Linked DNA regions of Homo sapiens: region 2 is linked to region 1. The links are contacts of gene promoters, found by promoter capture Hi-C in human tissues and cell types (Jung and others, 2019). All regions are on one chromosome and are shown on one strand. The core of a region is centred on a gene start or on the middle of the fragment in contact, and the rest is flanking DNA. Distances in the headings are between cores, read along the strand shown.

Region 1 (4,979 bases), core at 1,680-4,179:
CGGGCCCCTGTGCGTACGCAAGGCGGTGGGGGCGGCTCCCATGTGGGCCCCGGGCCCCCTCCCACCGGGCCCTCCCCCCCGCAGGCAGCAAGAAGAAGATCCGCCTGTACCAGTTCCTGTTGGACCTGCTCCGCAGCGGCGACATGAAGGACAGCATCTGGTGGGTGGACAAGGACAAGGGCACCTTCCAGTTCTCGTCCAAGCACAAGGAGGCGCTGGCGCACCGCTGGGGCATCCAGAAGGGCAACCGCAAGAAGATGACCTACCAGAAGATGGCGCGCGCGCTGCGCAACTACGGCAAGACGGGCGAGGTCAAGAAGGTGAAGAAGAAGCTCACCTACCAGTTCAGCGGCGAAGTGCTGGGCCGCGGGGGCCTGGCCGAGCGGCGCCACCCGCCCCACTGAGCCCGCAGCCCCCGCCGGGCCCCGCCAGGCCTCCCCGCTGGCCATAGCATTAAGCCCTCGCCCGGCCCGGACACAGGGAGGACGCTCCCGGGGCCCAGAGGCAGGACTGTGGCGGGCCGGGCCTCGCCTCACCCGCCCCCTCCCCCCACTCCAGGCCCCCTCCACATCCCGCTTCGCCTCCCTCCAGGACTCCACCCCGGCTCCCGGACGCCAGCTGGGCGTCAGACCCCACCGGGGCAACCTTGCAGAGGACGACCCGGGGTACTGCCTTGGGAGTCTCAAGTCCGTATGTAAATCAGATCTCCCCTCTCACCCCTCCCACCCATTAACCTCCTCCCAAAAAACAAGTAAAGTTATTCTCAATCCATCCTCTTGCAGCACAGAGTCTCTTTTAAAATTTGTTGTGTATCTCTTTTGGCCCCTGTGTGCTGCGACGTCTCTTTTTGTCATTTGTCCATCGGGTGTTTACCGAGGACTGTACCCAATGCTGGACCCTGGGAACATGAGGACCAATGACACAGAGCGCCTGAACAGGAGTTAGAGTTTGGTGGAAAGAACAAGTCCTCAATTGTGATTAGGAGAGCAGATCCTATTTAAAAGCTCTCTACTCCTGATAGTTGTTGTTTTTAAGCCTTGATGAGGTTTGAACTCATGATGATGATGATGATGATGATGATGACCATGACCAGCAACAACATTTGATATTCTGGTCAATTAGTATCTGCCAACCTTGAGATGTGGAGTCTAATATCACTCCATTTTATAGAATGGGAAACTGAGGCTTGTAGAGGTCAAATTATTTCCCCAAGGTCACAGCCGTTGAGTGGCCAAGTTGGATCACACTCCAGGTCTGTCCCGACACGTCAACATGGAGTGGGAGGCCTTGCTTATCTGGAAGAGGATACTCTTCAGCATTCCGAGGACAGGAATTAAGCCCCAAAGCTCCTGTGGGCCGCAAAGGGTTCTCACGAGCTGCACGCCCAGCAGGACTTTAGACCCAAGTGAATCCCTGGTGGGACCCCCAGGTTCTATTTGCTTTCTAGCTCCTAGCCACAGCAGGGGAGAAACAGACCAAGCTGAGCGGAGAAGCCTGTAAGTCCTGTGTTTTCCTCCAGACGGTAGCAAGTAGTGGCAGTAGACAGCCTGGGAGTGAGGGACTTCCCAACGCTGTCAAAGACCTTAGGGAACCCAGATTCTGGGGCCATTATCGTAGGGACAAATACCCGCCCCACACCTCCTCAACCCCAGAGGGCTCACTGCAGCCCAACCCTGCAGCTCCCTAGTCCTACTGCAGGGCCACAAGAGAAGGCAAAATGGTGTTGTGTCTTCATTCTTCTATTTTTATTTTTTTTTTTTTGAGACAGGGTCTTACTTTGTTGCCCAGGCTGGAGTGCAGTGGCACGAACATGGCTCACTGCAGCCCTGACCCCCCGGGCTCAAGTGATTCTCCTGCCTCAGCCTCCCGAGCATCTGGGACTACAGGTGTGCGTCACATGCCTGACTGATTTTTGTATTTTTTGTACAGATGGGGTTTCATCATGTTGCCCAGGCTGGTCTCGAACTCCTGAGCTCAAGTGATCTGCCCGCCTCAGCCTCCCAAAGTGCTGGGATTACAGGTGTGAGCCACTTCGCCCAGCCCATTTTTATTTTTTTATTATTATTCTTTGAGATATTAATAATAAAAAATAATAATAAATAATATTTTTATTATTATTATCACTCTGTCACCCAGGCTGCAGTGCAGTGGTGCGATTTTGGCTCACTGCAGCCCGGAACTCCTTGGACTCAAGCGATCCTCCCACCTCAGCCTCCTGGGTAGCTGATACTACAGGTCCACACCACCACACCTGGCTAATTTGTGTGTGTGTGTGTATTTATTTTATTTTTTATTTTTTTAGTAGAGATGGGGTTTTGCCATGTTGCCCAGGCTGGTCTCAAACTCCTGGCCTCAAATAATCTGCCTGCCTCGGCCTCCCAAAGTGCTGGGATTACAGATGAGCCACCACACCCGGCCTAACATTTTTAAAATTATAAACCCACTTCATACGTGTGACAATCCTGTGCAGTGGGTGCTGCTTTCACCCACCCCGCTTTACAGATGAGGAAACCAGGTGCTTTGAGATTAAAGAGATGGCAGTGCTAGGACTCAGAGACACCCTGGCCCCAGGGTCTGTGGACATGACCACTGCCTGAACTGCCTGCGAGGATGCTCCTGACCCGTTAGCCTTAGGGTTATGGGCCCAGCATGCTCCCACCGTACAATTTGCTGTAAGAGGGACACACACGGGGCTTGGAGTACCCCTGAGGCTTGCCAAAGGTTGGGGAGGCAGAATTGTGCTGCGGGGGGTGAGGGGGGAAGGGACAGGAGCCAGCCAGGGACAATGTGGCCCTACCTTCTCCCTGGAGAGACCTCAGCTCTCTGGAATTCATCTATATTTAGCAGGTGGCTGGACAGGAGGCAGATAAGCAGAGCCTGGGGAGGGGGGAGGTCCCCATATATAGTGGGAAGGACAGGACCCCACTCAGTCCCTCTTTGGGTGACCTGTGCCTGCTTCGTGCCTGGTGTGACGTCTCTCAGGATGCCTGAGCCGGGGAAGAAGCCAGGTAGCTTTAGGACTGGGGTTGGGTCTAAGTGTGGGAGCAGGGGGGTGTCTACAATTGGGGAGCAGGGCTAGGAGGGAGTTCTTGAGGGGGTTGACGAGGACGTGGCCTCTGAGCCCCAGGACAGGGGCAGCCAGTCCTCCAGGGTCCTTTTTTGATTCTCGGTTTCTTTTTCCCATCCCTCTGATGAGAGGTGAAGGTAAACCCAAGGTCAGGGACGCAGAGAGGGGACACAGCCAAGACAGGAAGCACCCGGGGTCAACCCATTCTGAGAATGCAAAGGGACCCCTTCCCTGTCCCATTGCCTTCACCTTCCACAGCAAGGTTCCCCGCGGACAGAGCCCACGTTTAGTATGGAGCTGAGCCAGGCTCACGGCATGCCTTCAGACCAGTCTCTACCCACTATGGGTCTCAGTCTCCCAACCTGGGGTGCCGGGGGTGGTGGTGGCATTGGGTTGGTTCCTCCTGGCTGTGACATTATCTGCTTCATGAGCCTGTACGGTGTGGCCCCCATGTTGAGGGTGACACAGCCCCTCTTCTCTGAGAGAGGACAGTCAGGAGCCCCTGAACCCAGGCCAAGGGCAGGGAAAATCACAGCCCAGGGACCTGGGCCTGGGCTGTGCCCTTATGAAGGTTGTCCAGGGCAGAGATCCAGGTCCCCATCCCCCAGCGCCCTCCCAGGCCAGCTTTATCTCAGTTGCTGATACCCAGCCTGAGGTCCTTGGAGGACAAATTTGGCCACATTCCAAGTAGGCAGACTTCCCCGCCCCCTGCCAAGGGCCCGAAATGGTTGGGGGAAAGGGAGCTGGGTTCATCACGGGTGTCTCCAAGCAGGGAAAGTGGACACATGCAGAAAAAGTCTTGTTGGGAGGTCAGGACCACAGCCCTGGCTCTCCCGACTGCTAGCTGTGTGATCTTGGAGGAGCCGCTTAGCTTCTCTGAGCCTCAGTGTCCTCCTCTGAGAAATGAACAGAATAACTGCAACTACCTCAGAGAACTGGTAGAGTATTACGTGAGGGGATGCATAGAAAGTGCTAGCACAGTATTTACTGAGAGGGGCTGCAGGGGCGGGGTGCACGCTCCAACCAGGGGCCGCTGTAGCCTCCACCTGGCCCTTCAGTCTCAGCTTTTAGCAAGAAGCCACGGTCAGTGGAAGTGGCCGCAGGCAGCCCTGCCGTGTTCGAGGCCGAGACAGAGCGGGCAGGAGTGAAGGTGCGCTGGCAGCGCGGAGGCAGTGACATCAGCGCCAGCAACAAGTACGGCCTGGCCACAGAGGGCACACGGCATACGCTGACAGTGCGGGAAGTGGGCCCTGCCGACCAGGGATCTTACGCAGTCATTGCTGGCTCCTCCAAGGTCAAGTTCGACCTCAAGGTCATAGAGGCAGGTAAGATCCTGATCAGCCTTCCCTGAGGTTTGGGCTGCTGGGGGAGGGGCAGCCCAGCGACTCTCCATCCATCCAGGGAACAGGAGGTGCTTTCACACTTTCTTGCCTTTGCTGTGGCTGTGCCCCCCGCCAGGAACGCCCTTTCCCCCTTTTCTGCACATGACCTCTCTGAGTACCCCCATGTGCCATCCTGGCTTGTTCCAGCCATGGGGTAGGTGGGAGAGATGAACAAGACACAACCCCACTCTCCCCCTGCAGACCTCCCTGGGGAGATGACCCTGCACAGACGGCCGGGAAGCCCCAGGAGCTGTGGATGAGGGGAGTGCAGCCCAGTCTGAGGGGCTGCTCTAAGGCTGGGGCAGAGCAGGGATGGACCTGGAGCTGTTCAGGGCAGATGCAGAGGACATGGGAACTGATGGCCTGGGACGGGGAGGAGAATGTGAGAGGCAGGCTGGCTCTCCAGCTCAGCATGAGCTGCCTCTGAGGGGCCCAGGCAGCGGGAGGACAGCCATGGCAGACTTTCCTCATCCACAGCGGGCTCATGGGTCCAATGCTCAGGAGAGAGAGGGTGGAGGGGTCTCTGGTTA
Region 2 (4,535 bases), core at 1,130-3,629, 100 kb before region 1:
GGTAGCATAGGAAGATAGACTGAGGCACAGAGAAGCTGCAGTTCTTCTGTTCATGTGGCTAATAAGTAGGACAGTTGTGTTTTCATGCAGGCCAACCTGACCCCGTAGTCCTGTAGAACATATTCCTTTGAGGGGTCACTAAGGTGGACCCTGGGGTGCCCTGGTTTAAATTCCACCTCTGGGACAGAGCTTCATGAAGACAGGAGCCATACTTCATTTCTCACTGGAGGCCTCACCATTCCACACACACTGGCGGGTAAGTATTCAGTAGACATTTCTGTCACCATCCAACACAAATGACCGCCAAGTCCCTCAGAGCGACTTTACAGGAATTCTAATACAACTTCTGAGTCCGCTCACCAGGGGCCCTGCCACTTGAAGTTGGTGCCAGCACCTGTTTCAGTAGCAGGGCCCTGTGCTGTTAGAGGTTCCCCCTTGGCGGTCAGGGAAGGACCCAGGTGAGGGGAGCCTACCTGTGGCCATTCAGCCCTGAGAGTGCCACTAACCTGCCCTTCCCTAGAATGGGATGTGCCTGGAGCCCGAAACACCTGACAGCAATGACTTGTTTACAAAATCAGGTGAGGGTTTGAATTTTTTTTTTTTTTTTGAGATGGAGTGTCACTCTTGTTGCCCAGGCTGGAGTACAGCAGTATGGTATCAGCTCACTGCAACCTCCGCCTCCCAGGTTCAACCAATTCTCCTGCCTCAGCCTCCTGAGTAGCTGGGATTACAGGCGCGTGCCACCACGCCTGGCAAATTTTTGTATTTTTAGTAGAGATGGGGTTTCACCATGTTGGTCAGACTGGTCTCGAACTCCTGACCTCGTGAGCCACCACGCCTGGCCTTAATTTTTTTTTATTAAATGCAAAACATTTAGGTGGTTCTTCAAAAGGCTTAGAGTATGTTGGGGAAATCTTTGTTTTAAGGATTCCCTAATCCGGTAATACCAAGTCTACCATCAGCACCCCTGTGACCTTGGACAAATTACTTGATTCTCAGCCCCAGATTGTTCATCTGTTAAATGGAAACAAAAGCACCTGCCCCGTACAGTTGGGAAGATGAGAGATTGTCTCAAAAACTAGCCAAAGGGGCCGGGTGTGGTGGCTCATGCCTGTAATCCCAGCACATGGGGAGGCGAAGGCAGGGGGATTGCTTGAGCCCAGGAGTTCAAAACCAGCCTGGGCAACATAGCGAGACTCCATCTCTACAAAAAGAATAAATGCACAGCCGGGCGCGGTGGCTCACGCCTTTAATCCCAGCACTTTGGGGGGCCGAGGCGGGCGGATCACGAGGTCAGGAGATCAAGACCATCCTGGCTAACAAGGTGAAACCCCGTCTCTACTAAAAATACAAAAAAAAAAATTAGCCGGGAGTGGTGGCGGGTGCCTGTAGTCCCAGGTTCTCAGGAGGCTGAGGCAGGAGAATGGCGTGAACCTGGGAGGCGGAGCTTGCAGTGAACCGAGATGCCGTCACTGCACTCCAGCCTGGGCGACAGAGCAAGACTCCGTCTCAAAAAAGAATAAATGCACAAACAAATAGCCAAGCTACTGCCCCTGGCAAGCACTCATTAAAGTCGCTAGTAACAACAGTAAGTCATGGTTAAAAGTGAGCGAATGCCCCATCCCACAGCCCATTGATAACAGATGGGGTCATATGCTTCCAGGATTTTGCTTTTTTCTTTCTTTTTTTTTTTTTTTTTTTTTTGAGACGGAGTCTCGCAGTCTCGCTCTGTCACCCAGGCTGGAGTGCAGTGGCGCAAACTCGGCTCACTGCAAGCTCCACCTCTTGGGTGCATGCCATTCTCCTGCCTCAGCCTCCCGAGTAGCTGGGACTACAGGCACCCGCCACCACGCCCAGCTAATTTTTTGCATTTTTAGTGGAGACGGGGTTTCACCATGTTAGCCAGGATGGTCTGGATCTCCTGACCTCGTGATCCGCCAGCCTCGGCCTCCCAAAGTGCAGGGATTACAGGCGTGAGCCACCGCACCTGGCCGGATTTTTCCTTATAAACACAAAAAATAAGTAATTTTTGTTAATAAAAATGAGATCATGTTGAGATCATGCTGAGTATGGTAGCTCGGATTATGCCTATAATCCCAGCACTTTGGGAGGCTGAAGCAGGAGGATTACTTGAGCCCAGGAGTTTGAGACCAGCCTGGGCAACACAGACCTGTCTCTACAAAAAATTTAAAAAATTAGCCAGGTGTGATGGCACACACCTGTAGTCCAAGCCACTTGGGAGGCTGAAGCGGGAGGATTGCTTGAGCCCAAGAGGTTGAGGCTGCAGTGAGCCATGATCGCACCACTGTACTCCAGCCTGGGTAACAGAGCGAGACCCTGTTTCAAAAAAAAAAAAAAAAAATGGCTGGGTGCAGTGGCTCACGCCTGTAATCCCAGCACTTTGGGAGGCCAAGGCGGGCAGATCACGAGGTCAGGAGATCGAGACCATCCTGGCTAACACAGTGAAACCCCGTCTCTACTAAAAATACAAAACTAGCCAGGCATGATGGTGCATGCCTGTAATCCCAGCTACTCGGAGGCCGAGGCAGAAGAATCACTTGAACCCAGGAGGCGGAGGTTGCAATGAGCCGAGATCGCGCCATTGCACTCCAGCCTGGGCAACAAGAGCGAAACCATCTCAGAAAAAAAAGGCCAGGTGCGGTAGTTCATGCCTATAATCCCAGTACTTTAGGAGGCCAAGGCGGGTAGATCACGAGGTCAGGAGATCCAGACCATCCTGGCTAACACAGTGAAACCCTGTCTCTACTAAAAATACAAAATATTAGCCGGGTGTGTTGGCAGGCACCTGTAGTCCCAGCTACTCAGGAGCCTGAGGCGGGAGACTAGCTTGAACCCGGGAGGCGAAGCTTGCAGTGAGCTGAGATCGCGCCACTGCACTTCAGCCTGGGTGACAGAGTGAGACTCCGTCTCAAGAATAATAATAATAATAAAATAAAAATCACACCGTAATATACAGAATGTTTTGCAGCTTGTTTTTTTTTTTTTTTTTTTTTTAGAAGGAGTCTCACTCTTGTTAGCCAGGCTGGAGTGCAGTGGCACGATCTCGGCTCACCGCAACCTCTGCCTCCCGGGTTCAAGCGATTCTCCTGCCTCAGCCTCCTGAGTAGCTGGAATTAACAGGTGCCCGCCACCATGCCCAGCTAATTTTTTGTATTTATTAGAGACCAGGTTTCACCATGTTGGTCGGGTTGGTCTTGAACTCCTGACCTCAGGTGATCCACCTGCCTCGGCCTCCCAAAATGCTGGGATTACAGCCGTGAGCCACCACGCCCAGTCTGCAGCTTGCTTTTTTAAGTTACTATGCCCTGGGCTCCCTTCCATCTGGGTACACAGGTATCTACTGCTTCCTTATTTAGAGTCTACATAGCACTTCATGGTTATGAACACCCTTCTATCAGACACAGATTCTTTCTAGTTTTTCACTACCGTAAATAATAAGCCAATAGAGGGATGTTAGTTCAATGGCTTCTTTTCAAAGCAAGTTATCTTATCATCTCATTTGATTTTCACAGAAAACTTGCCAGAGAGGTGATATCTTTTTTTTTTTTTTTTGGAACAGAGTCTCGCTCTATCGCCAGGCTGGAGCGTAGTGGTGCAATCTCTACTCACTGCAACCTCCGCCTCCCGGGTTCAAGCGATTCTCCTCCTTCAGCCTCCCACGTAGCTGGGACTACAGGCACGCACCACCACGCCAGCTAATTTTTGTATTTTTAGTAGAGACAGGGTGTCACCATGTTGGGCAGGATGGTCTCAATCTCTTGACCTTGTGATCCGCCTGCCTCAGCCTCTTAAAGTGCTGGGATTACAGGCGTGAGCCACCACGCCCGGCCAATATCTTTTTAATTGGGGAAACTAACTTGGTAAGATGGGGAGACTTCCCAAGAATCCCGATAGTCGTGGTAGAGGGACCTTGGGACTGTCCCCTTCAGTTACATTTCGTCATGCATCTGGAGCAGGGGCTGCAACTGTGATGTACTCATGTGAAAGGAGGCCAGCATAAGACAAGTGGCATTTGGCTTCAGTGTCAAGGCGAGAACAGGGAGTCAGGGGTGCATGGTTCCAATGAATGAATTGGTAAGACATTCATGGTCTCTTGGGGCCAGACCCCGACCACTGGAGTGGTTGGTAGGCAGTCAAGGTCTGAGCATGCGTGAGTTTCCACTTTTTTTTTTTTTTTTTTTTTTTTTGAGACAGAGTTTTCCTCTTGTCACCCAGGCTGGAGTGCAATGGCACAATCTCGGCTCACTGCCACCTCCACCTCCCAGGTTCAAGCAATTCTCGTGCCTCTGCCTCCTGAGTAGCTGGGACTACAGGTGCATGCCACCATGCCTGGCTAATTTTTTGTATTTTCCATGGAGACAAAGTTTCATCATATTGGCCAGGCTGGTCTCGAACTCTTGAGCTCAGGTGATCTGCCCGCCTCAGCTTCCCAAAGTGCTGGGACTACAGGAGTGAGCCCCTGCACCAGGCCAAGCTTCCACTCTTCAAGAGAAGCAAGGAAATGTACATTTTTA

Evidence for each region. The method cuts DNA at HindIII sites, captures the fragments that hold promoters and counts their contacts. A contact is called where the count stands out against the background at its distance.
Region 2: a contact is called between a fragment that was not itself captured here and the fragment with the promoter of MYBPC3 in region 1, in 4 of the 25 tissues and cell types used here (heart left ventricle, hippocampus, liver and 1 more).

Annotation. Positions count from the first base shown.
Region 1 is chr11:47,350,652-47,355,630 of GRCh38, reverse strand. It overlaps MYBPC3 (myosin binding protein C3), which reads left to right and starts at 2,929. Exons shown (of 35, transcript NM_000256.3): 1 at 2,929-3,008; 2 at 4,126-4,392. The coding sequence starts at 2,984. It overlaps SPI1 (Spi-1 proto-oncogene), which reads left to right. Exons shown (of 5, transcript NM_003120.3): 5 at 85-771. The coding sequence ends at 404. RefSeq lists enhancers at 3,305-4,285, 4,286-4,979. The HindIII fragment of the contact is 22,693 bases long and covers 1-4,979 here.
Region 2 is chr11:47,455,256-47,459,790 of GRCh38, reverse strand. No RefSeq gene overlaps it. Among named protein-coding and RNA genes, the nearest start is that of RAPSN, 8.4 kb to the right of the region's middle. RefSeq lists an enhancer at 3,879-4,378. The HindIII fragment of the contact is 7,589 bases long and covers 1-4,535 here.